Regions from separate parts of the Homo sapiens genome. Here region 1 is linked to region 2. The links are contacts of gene promoters, found by promoter capture Hi-C in human tissues and cell types (Jung and others, 2019). All regions are on one chromosome and are shown on one strand. The core of a region is centred on a gene start or on the middle of the fragment in contact, and the rest is flanking DNA. Distances in the headings are between cores, read along the strand shown. Region 1 has its middle 28 kb from the start of NORAD. Region 2 holds the start of CNBD2 (cyclic nucleotide binding domain containing 2).

Region 1 (4,892 bases), core at 1,514-4,013, 110 kb after region 2:
GGTTCACGCCATTCTTCTGCCTCAGCCTCCCGAGTAGCTGGGACTACAGGCACCCGCCACCACGCCCGGCTAATTTTTTGTATTTTTCGTAGAGACGGGGTTTCACTGTGCTAGCCAAGATGGTCTCAATCTCCTGACCTCGTGATCCGCCTGCCTCGGCCTCCCAAAGTGCTGGGATTACAGGTGTGAGCTACCACACCCGGCAAACTTAAAAAAAATTTTTTTTTTGAGACAGAGCCTCCCTCTGTCGCCAGGCTGGAGTGCAGTGGTGCGATCTCGGCTCACCACAACCTCCGCCTCCCGGTTTCAAGCGATTCTCCTGCCTCAGCCTCCCGAGTAGCTGGGATTACAGGCACGGGCCACCACGCCCAGCTAATTTTTGTATTTTTAGTACAGACGGGGTTTCGCCATGTTGGACAGGCTGGTCTCGAACTCCCGATCTCAGGTAATCTGCCAGCCTTGGCCTCCCAAAGTGCTGGGATTACAGACGTAAGCCACCACACCTCACCCATTTTAACTATTTTTAAGTATACAATTCAGTGACATTAAGTTCATTCACAAAGTAGTGTAATCATCACCACTTCCTATTTCCAGAACTTTTTCATCATCCCAAACAGACACTCTGTACCCATTAAACAACATTCCCCATTTTCCCCTTCCCTCAGCCTCTGGTAACCTCTATTTATTTTAATTTCTGTCTCTACGAATTTACCTATTCTAGATACTTCATATGAGTGGAATCATACAACGTTTGTATTTATTTTTGTTTGTTTGTTTGAGACAGAGTACAGTGTTGGGATCATAGCTCACTGCAGCCTCAACCTCCCAGGCACAAGTGATCCTCCCACCTCAGCCTCCTGGGTAGCTAGGACTACAGGCACACACCACCACACCTGGCTAATATTTAAAAATTTTTTGTAGAGACGGTGAAACAGGAACCCTCGAAGGGTGTGCAATGGGGGTGTGGCTTGCTTCTTCAGTGCCCTGCTGCTCAAACCTCTAGGGGAGCATACAGATGGGCAGGCTGTGGGGCTCCGACCCCACAGCAGTGTCTAGGGGTGAATGTTTACAGCTGAAGCCCCAATGGGCGTGTGTTATAGGGTGCTCTTTTAGGTTGCCATCTATAGGCGGCTTGTGTTAACCAGCTCAATTAAACCCCCTTCCTTACCACAAGGACAGAGGGATTTCTGTATCCTGGGGTTTCTTGCCTTGTTGTACCTGGAAGAACTGGATCACATGTGGGCTTGGAGAATGAGTGCAAGGTTTTATTGAGTAGAACTAGCTCTCAGCAGATGGGGGAGTTGGGGAGCCAGAAGGGAAATGGTTTTCCCCTGGAAATGTTCTCATCATGTTCACCAACATGGTGAAACCCTGTCTCTACTAAAAATATTTTTAAAATTAGCTGGGCATGGTGGTGTGCGCCTGTAATCCCAGCTACTCAGGAGGCTGAGGCAGGAGAATCACTTGAACCGGGGAGGCAGAGGTTGCAGTGAGCAGAAATCGAGCCACTGCACTCCAGCCTGAGTGACAAAGCAAGACTCCGTTTCAAAAAAAAATGTTAGTAAGGATGTGAAGAAAGTGAACCTTCATATATTGCTGGGGGACTGTCAAATAGTATCGCTGCTTTGAAGTTCTTCAAAAAGTAAAACAGAGTTACCACATGACCCAGCAATTCCACTGCTAGGCGTATATCCAAGAGAAATGAAAATGTATGTTCATAGGCGGGGCACAGTGGCTCACGCCTGTAATCCCAGCACTTTGGGAAGCCAAGGTGGGCAGATCACTAGAGGTCAGGAGTTCGAGACCAGCCTGGCCAACAAGATGAAACCCCGTCTGTACTAAAAATACAAAAATTAGCTGGGCGTGGTGTCAGGCACCTGTAAGCCCAGCTACTCGGGAGGCTGAGGCAGGAGAATCATTTGAACCAGGGAGATGGAGGTTGCAGTGAGCAGAGATCACGCCACTGCACTTTAGCCTGGGCGACAGAGTGAGACACTGTCTCAAAACAAACAAACAAAAACACAAAAAACAAAACAAAACAAAAATGGAGGCTGGGCATGGTAGCTCATGCCTGTAATCCTAGCACTTTGAGAGGCCGAAGTGGTCGGATCACCTGAGGTCAGGAGTTTGAGACCAGCCTGACCAACATGGAGAAACCCCATCTCTACTAAAAATATAAAATTAGCTGGGCATGGTGGCACATGCATGTAATCCCAGCTACTCGGGAGGCTGAGGCAGGAGAATCACTTAAACCTGGGAGGCAGAGGTTGCGGTGAGCTGAGATCTCGCCATTGCACTCCAGCCTGGGCAACAAGAGCAAAACTCCGTCTCAAAAAAAAAAAAAAAAAAAAAAAAAAAAGGGAGGTGGGGGGCACTGGCTGTGGTGGCTCACGCCTGTATTCCCAGCATTTTGAGAGACCGAGGTGGGTGGATCACCTGAGGTCAGGAGTTTGAGACCAGCCTGGCCAACATGGTGAAACCCCATCTCTACTAAAAATACAAAAAAATTAGCCAGGAGTGTTGGTGCATGCCTCCCAGCTACTCGGGAGGCTGAGGCAGAAGAATCACTTGAACTCGGGAGGCAGAGCTTGCAGTGAGCTGAGATGTGAGCCGAGATTGCACCACTGCACTCCAGCCTGGGTGACTGAATGAGACTTCGTCTCAAAAAAAAAAGAAAGAAAATGTACGTTCACACAAAAACTTGTACACAATGTTTATCGTGTTATTATTTCTTATAGCCAGCAGGTAGAAACAACCCAGATGTCCATCCACTGACGAATAGCTAAACAAAATGTGGTATATCCATACAGTGGACTATTATTCAGCCATAAAAAGGAATAACACTGATTCACACTACAACATGGATGAACCTTGAAAATCTTACGCTAAATGAGGGAAACCAATCACAAAATAACATATATTGTATGATCCATTTATATGAATAAATCAAGACAGAAAGTAGATTAGTGGTTGCCAAGGGATAGTAGGAAGTTGGGAATGGGGAATAACGGTTAATAGTGTGACTGCCCAGTGTGCTCACCTTGCCCACTGCCAAGACAGAGCCGATTTATCAAGACAGAGAAATTGCAATAGAGAAAGAGTAATTCATGCAGAGCCGGCTGTGCGGGATACCAGAGTTTTATAATTACTCAAATCAGTCTCCCCAAGCATTCGGGGAGCAGAATTTTTAAGGACGACTTGGTGGGTTGGGGGAAGCCAGTGAGCCAGGAGTGCTGAATGGTCAGGGATGAAATCACAGGGAGTCGAAGCTGTCTTCTTGAGCTGAGTCACTTCCTGGATGGGGGTCACGAGATCAGATGAGCCAGTTTATCAATCTGGGTGGTGCCAGCTGATCCATCAAGTGCAGGTCTGCAAAATATCTCAAGCATTGATCTTAGGAGCAGTTTAGAGAGGGTCAGAATCTTGTAGCCTCCAGCTGCATGACTCCTAAACCTTAATTTCTAATCTTATGGCTAATATTAGTCCTACGAAGGCAATCTAGTCTCCAGGCAAGAAAGAGGTCTGCTTTTGGAAAGGGCTGTTATCGTCTTTGTTTTAAACTATAAACTACGTCCAGGCACGGTGGCTCATGCCTGTAATCCCAGCACTTTGGGAGGCTGAGGCAGGTGGATCACTTGAGGTCAGGAGTTTGAGACCAGCCTGGCCAACATGGTGAAATGCTGCCTCTACCAAAAATACAAAAATTAACCGGGTGTGGTGGTGGGCACCTGTAATCCCAGCTATTCAGGAGGCTGAGGCAGAAGAATCGCTTGAACCCAGGAGGTGGAGGTTGCAGTGAGCCGAGGTCATGCCATTGAACCCCAGCCTGGGTGACAGAGTGAGACTCCGTATCAAAACAAAAACAAAAAAAACCTATAAAAACTATAAACTAAGTTTCTCCCAAAGTTAGTTCAGTCTATGCCTAGGAATGAACAAGGACAGCTTGGAGGTTAGAAGCATGTAGAGTCGATTAAGTTAGATCTCTTTCACTGTCTCAGTCATAATTTTGCAAAGGCAGTTTCAATAGGCATGGGATTTCTTTTTGGGGGTGATGAAATGTTCTGGAATTAGAGAGTGGTGATGGTTTCACAACTTTGTGGATATACTAAAAACCAACTAAATTGCACACTTTAAAATGATTAATTTTATATGTTAATTATATCTCAAGAAAAAGTACAGTATATGATAGTAGGCACCCATGTACATACTACCTAATTCCAGAAAAAAACTGTTACAAATACCATTGCAATTTCCTATGTACTGTTCTTCCATCCCATTCCCCTCCCTCTCTACCCAGAAGTGGCCACTACCGTGAAGTTGGTGTTTATCATGGCAATTGTCTTCATTTATTTGGGCTGCTATCACGAAATACTTTAGACTGAGTATCTTATACGCAACAGAAACTTATTTTTCACAGTTCTGGAGGTTGGGAAGGCCAAGATCAATGGGGTGAGGGCCTACTTTCTCACAGACTTCACGTTTTTACGGTGACCTCACATGGTGGAAGGGACCAGCTAGCTCTCTTAGGTCTCTTTTATAAGGGCAGTAATCCCATTCATGAGGGTACCCAATCATCTCCTAAAGGCCTCATCTTCTAACACTGTCACATTTGGGATTACGTTTCAATGTATGACTCTTGGGGACACACAAACATTCAGAGCATAGCAGTAATACATGTCTTTATAACTTTTAACAAATGTATGAGTATCCCTAAACAATATATAGCATTGCTTTGTATGTTTTTAAGCTTAATATACATCACATAAGTTGCATCCTCTGCAATATTCTTTTTTCCTACCAACATTATGTTTTTGAGAATTATCCATATTCTTTTTTTTTTTTTTTTGAGACAGAGTCTGGCTCTGTCGCCCAGGCTAGAGTGCAGGGTGTGA
Region 2 (4,919 bases), core at 2,271-4,770:
AACTCCTGGTAAGCAGGGACCACATCTTATTCACCTTCATATGCTTTGTAAGCATTTGTTGTATAGCTTTTATAATCAGCAAAACAATAAGAATCTTCTCTCTCCCTCTCTCTCTTTTTTTTTTTTTTTTTGAGACGGAGTCTCATTCTGTCACCTAGGCTTGAGTGGTGCAATCTTGGCTCACTGCAACCTGCGCCTCCCAGGCTCAGATGATGCTCCCGCCTCAGCCTCCCGAGTAGCTGGGATTACAGGTGCATGCCACCACACTGGGCTAGTTTTTGTATTTTTAGTAGATACTGGGTTTCACCATGTTGGACGAGCTGGCCTTGAGCTCCTGACCTCAGGTGATCCACCCGCATCAGCCTCCCAAAGTGTTGGGATTGCAGGCATGAGCCACCGCGCTTGGCCGAATCTTCTCATAAATTGTTTGTGGAATTGAATCGAACTCCATTTTATACATTATGAAAATGAGGCCCCAAGTAGTTAAGTGACTTACCTAAGATCACATAGGAATAGGACCAGTGCTCTTTTTGGCATTCTACCCTGTAATAGTTACAGTTATAAAATCAGGAACTGTAAGAGAAATGAAACTTTCTTAGTTTCTAGAACTGACTTAAATGTGTGACTCTGAATCCCCAGCCCACCTCCTTGCAGATAATTGAATTTAGGATGTCTTCAGGTAAATTGAGATCCAATCCAGTAATTTTGAGTGGATATAATTTCAGGCTTATTGATTCATCTTGGGCCCATTCATAGCTCTCCAAACTTCCTGCTTCTTCTTCCCCAAAGCTGATCTAATTCCTAGAGAAATTGTACAACCACAGCTGGCAAGAGGTGAGGTTGGCAGTAAACATTTTTGGGGTCTCATCAGGTCGTACTGGCATCATCTGATGCCCCTTGTGAGCCTGGATACTTTCCTTGTCACTCTTGGATCCTCAGGCAGTTCAGAGGACTGACGGGACACCCTTCCTGCCTATAGCCATCTCCTACCATCTCTCTTGCTTTCTCCAGGCCCAGTTGTTTCTTTCAGAAGCCCCCTACACTTTTGAAGGGGATCCTCTTATATTTCCTTCCTTAAGACTAGGTTTGCAGTGGGGGAGGCAAAAACTCCATACCTCATCTCTCTGTCTCTCTTTCTAAAACTTTCTCTTCTTTCTCTCTCTGAATTCTTTACATCTTTTCTCATGGTATGGGGGAAAAACCAGTTTTGTCCCTTCTCACCTCTGTGTGTGATTACTGTCCCACCCCAAGAGTGGCCTTTGTCTTTCTTCTCAGCTGTCCAGCCATCTTTGCTGAACTCAGTGTCCTTCTGTCTACCTATCAGTTGGAGGAGAGTTAACAGATATACCCCACGGGATAGGAATGGCAGAGCAGGTGATGCTTGAAATCACAGTTTTCTACTGAGGATCCTGGTGCAAGAGCAAATTGAGATACTCAATTGTCATCTTTAATAGAAAAAAGCACTTTAGAGCCTATATTTTTCTATATCTTTAGAAGGACTCCAGAGATTTGAGTTCTAGTCACCAAGTTCCATTCAATATTTGACACTTGATTTGGGTGAGGTCTTCTGTTTTGCTGAGTTTTTTTTTTATTGTCCTGATTTAACCAGACTTATGGGACAGTACTATGCACCCACGTTCCAGGGCCTCCAAGTTCTAAGTCTCAGAGTGGTCCCTGGGCTAAGGTGCTGGATGAACCTACTCCCAGCCTAGAAGCCTCCCGCTGTAACAAAGTACACCCATTTTTCTATGAGATAGAGAATGAGTTATCTTTTTAAATCATCTTTTTCTTCTTTCTCTTTTGTGTTTTTCTTCTGTTCCCCACTTCCTACTTAGCTGATTAGAAATGCAGTTATAACCTTTTGCTTTCCCTTCACCAGACACTCCTAGAGCAAGTGTATCTGTGTGCTTACTTAAAAGCTCCAGAGTAGAAACCTCTCCCACCAGATTGCCTTGAGAGACAATAGTCAATTTACAACCAAAAGTATGCCTGCCAGGAAACTCTGCCCCACCTGGAGAGTATCTCGAGACAAGGCCACTTTACAACCTAGTTCTGCCCAAGATGGTGGCAGCTCGACCAGGCGGTAGATAAGGCACCAAAGTGAGTCATGGAGACTCCCACCTGCTCATTCCCTCCTCTGCATGCCATTTATGCCAATTCCCCCTCCCGCTTTTTTTTTTTTTTTTTTTTTTTTTTTTGAGACAGAGTCTTGCTCTGTCGTTCAGGCTGGAGTGCAGTGGCACAATCTTGGCTGACTGCAACCTCTGCCTCCCGGGTTCAAGTGATCCTCCCACCTCAGCCTCCCGAGTAGCTGGGATTATAGGTGCCCACCACCTCACCCGGCTAATTTTTTTGTATTTTTAGTAGGGATGGGGTTTCACCACATTGGCCAGGCTGGACCAGACCTTGCTTCTGTTAATTGGATGCTACAAATGGAGAGCAAGTGTACCTGACATTTAGCTACACTGCTTTCTTAAAAAAAAAAAAAAAAAAAAGGCCCTGGCCAGGAGTGGTGGTTTATGCCTGTAATCCCGGCACTTTGGGAGGCTGAGGTGGGTGGATCACTTGAGGTCAGGAGCTTGAGACCAGCCTGGGCAACGTGGTGAAAGCCTGTCTTTACTAAAAATACAAAAATCAGCCGGGCATGGTGGCACACGCCTGTAATCCTAGCTACTTGGGCGGCTGAGGCAGGAGAATCACTTGAATTTGGGAGGCAGAGGTTGCAGTGAGCTGAGATTGGGCCACTGCACTCCATCCTGGGAACAAAGTGAGACAGTGTCTCAAAAAACAAAAAAGCCCTATCTTTGCAGGACAGGTGAGCCCCCAAATTGAGACTTAGCTTAGGAGAGTTCTTGGCTTTGCCCAAGGAAGGAATTCAAGGGTGAGCCAGTGGTGTTAGACAGCAATCTTTTATTGAATAGTGCTTCTCCTTGTGGGGCAGGGCTAACTCATGGGCAATGAATCCGGAGTCGATACCCAGTGTATGAGATGTTGGCAACTGTATTTATGCTCATCTCTAATCCCTTCTCAGCCTTTTGGCTGAGATCAAGTGTAGTATACGCATTCCTACCCACTTTCAATCACATGCAAATTAAGGGGCAGGCTAATGCAAATTAAGGGGCAGGTTAATGCAAATTAAGGAGTGGGTTTTTAGAGTTTTCTAGGAAAGAGGTAGCAACTTCCTGGTCATTGCCAAGACATTTGTACACTGTCATGGCACTGGTAGGAGTGTCTTATGTTAATGAGGGATGGGGACAGCTAGGGGGTCCTAGATCCTGTTTTGGTCAGCAGGGTTGTGCCATTCTCCTGTCTCACCAGGACTCTGGCAGCCATTTAGCTACTTTGAGCCCCAGTCTCCTATGTATGGAGTTGAGTAAAAGTTTGGGTGGTTGTGAGGATTAGCTGAGATAATGCCTGTGAGTATCCCATAAATGTTAGACTCCCACATTCCAATCCCTGTGTCCCCTGCCTCCAGAATCTTTCATTGTGACCTTAGGAGATTCTGAGAATGATTTTTCTCAGAGCAGGGCTTCCAGTAGCTGATGGTATGGTAGGAGGAGTGGAGTGGAGCTCTTGCCTTGTTACTGAGGAAATCTATTTGTTTCTAGTATTACTGGATTTTTGGGGAAAAATTTGTAGTCCTCCCCTTGAAAGGCAAAGGGGCTAGTTGTGCCATTTGCCTGCACAGGAACCATGAGGAGACATATGGTAACTTATGCCTGGCAGCTCCTGAAGAAGGAACTGGTGAGGAGGGGCAAGGGCCCTGGGAGGGAAGAGCAGAAGACTGAACAGACAGGTGTTTTGAGGAAGGTCGATGCAGGTGTAGGAGGGGTCTTGGATGAATGGTGGCCATCCTGTACCTTTTGGAGTCACAGCATGGCACAAAGGAGGGACCCCTGCCCTGTAGCCTACCAGCCCCCCACACTGGGCAAGCCATAAGCCACACTCAGAGCCACTGAGTCCTGTTCTGTACCCACTCTTCCTGCTATTATGAGATCCAGAGAGAACGAGGGAGGATAGAGTCAGGGTAGCAACATTGAGTCATAGGTTAAGCTTGTGAACTCTGGAGCCAGACTACCTAGGTTTAAATCCCTATCACCTATTAGTCATGTGACCCCAGGCAAGTTGCTTGGTTTGCTGTGCCTTTATTTTCTCCTCTGTAAAGTGAGATGATAATACTAGTACCTACTGCATAAATTTACTGATTAAATGATTTACATATCAGAATAGTGCTTTGGATAATGCCTGACAATAGTAAATTGTACTCAGTAAGTATTAATTTTATTCATAAAGTACCTTTCCCCATATTTCCATAGATATCTAATTTTTAAGAAATAGAACATTACAGGTGTAGGGAAAGCTCTTTACCATCCCATGCCCCTTTATTTCTCTTTAATAGTAACCACTTTCCTGAAGTTGGTGTCACCCTTCCTGTTTATATTTTTATATATTATCACATGTGTATGTATCCATAAACAATATATAGTATGTGGCACACTGTTTAAAAATGATACCATAAATAGCATCATAGTTCTTTTTTCCCACTCAAAATCATTTCAGCTTTATCCACATTGACACACACAGACTTAGTGCTGTGTTCAATCCTGTGACTGAACCATAATGTATTGATCCCTTCGATCCCTACTAATGAACATTTGTTTTCAGCCATTCACTGTTACACACAATGTTGCCATGATTACCCTCATGGCTATCCCCTTGTACATGTATGTTTCTCTGAAGAGGACATATAAAGTACATACAATTCTTCCATTGTGAAGTACACACATCCTCAACTTTATATAATGTTGCCAAATTGCTCTTCAACATGGTTGTACCATGTTTCCCAGTTCCCAGTGATAAGTGCAAAATAGTATCATGTTATTACTTTAATTTCCATTTCCATTATTTCTAGCAATGTT

The links. Contacts are between HindIII fragments. The study calls those that stand out against the background at their distance.
Region 1: a fragment that was not itself captured here is called in contact with the fragment with the promoter of CNBD2 in region 2 in 4 of the 25 tissues and cell types used here (IMR-90 fibroblasts, dorsolateral prefrontal cortex, lymphoblastoid cells and 1 more).

The regions. Positions count from the first base shown.
Region 1 is chr20:36,076,865-36,081,756 of GRCh38, forward strand. No RefSeq gene overlaps it. Among named protein-coding and RNA genes, the nearest start is that of NORAD, 28 kb to the left of the region's middle. The HindIII fragment of the contact is 7,705 bases long and covers 1-4,892 here.
Region 2 is chr20:35,965,070-35,969,988 of GRCh38, forward strand. It overlaps CNBD2 (cyclic nucleotide binding domain containing 2), which reads left to right and starts at 3,521. Exons shown (of 12, transcript NM_001365709.1): 1 at 3,521-3,744. The coding sequence starts at 3,694. It also overlaps the pseudogene LOC124904982. The HindIII fragment of the contact is 12,223 bases long and covers 1-4,919 here.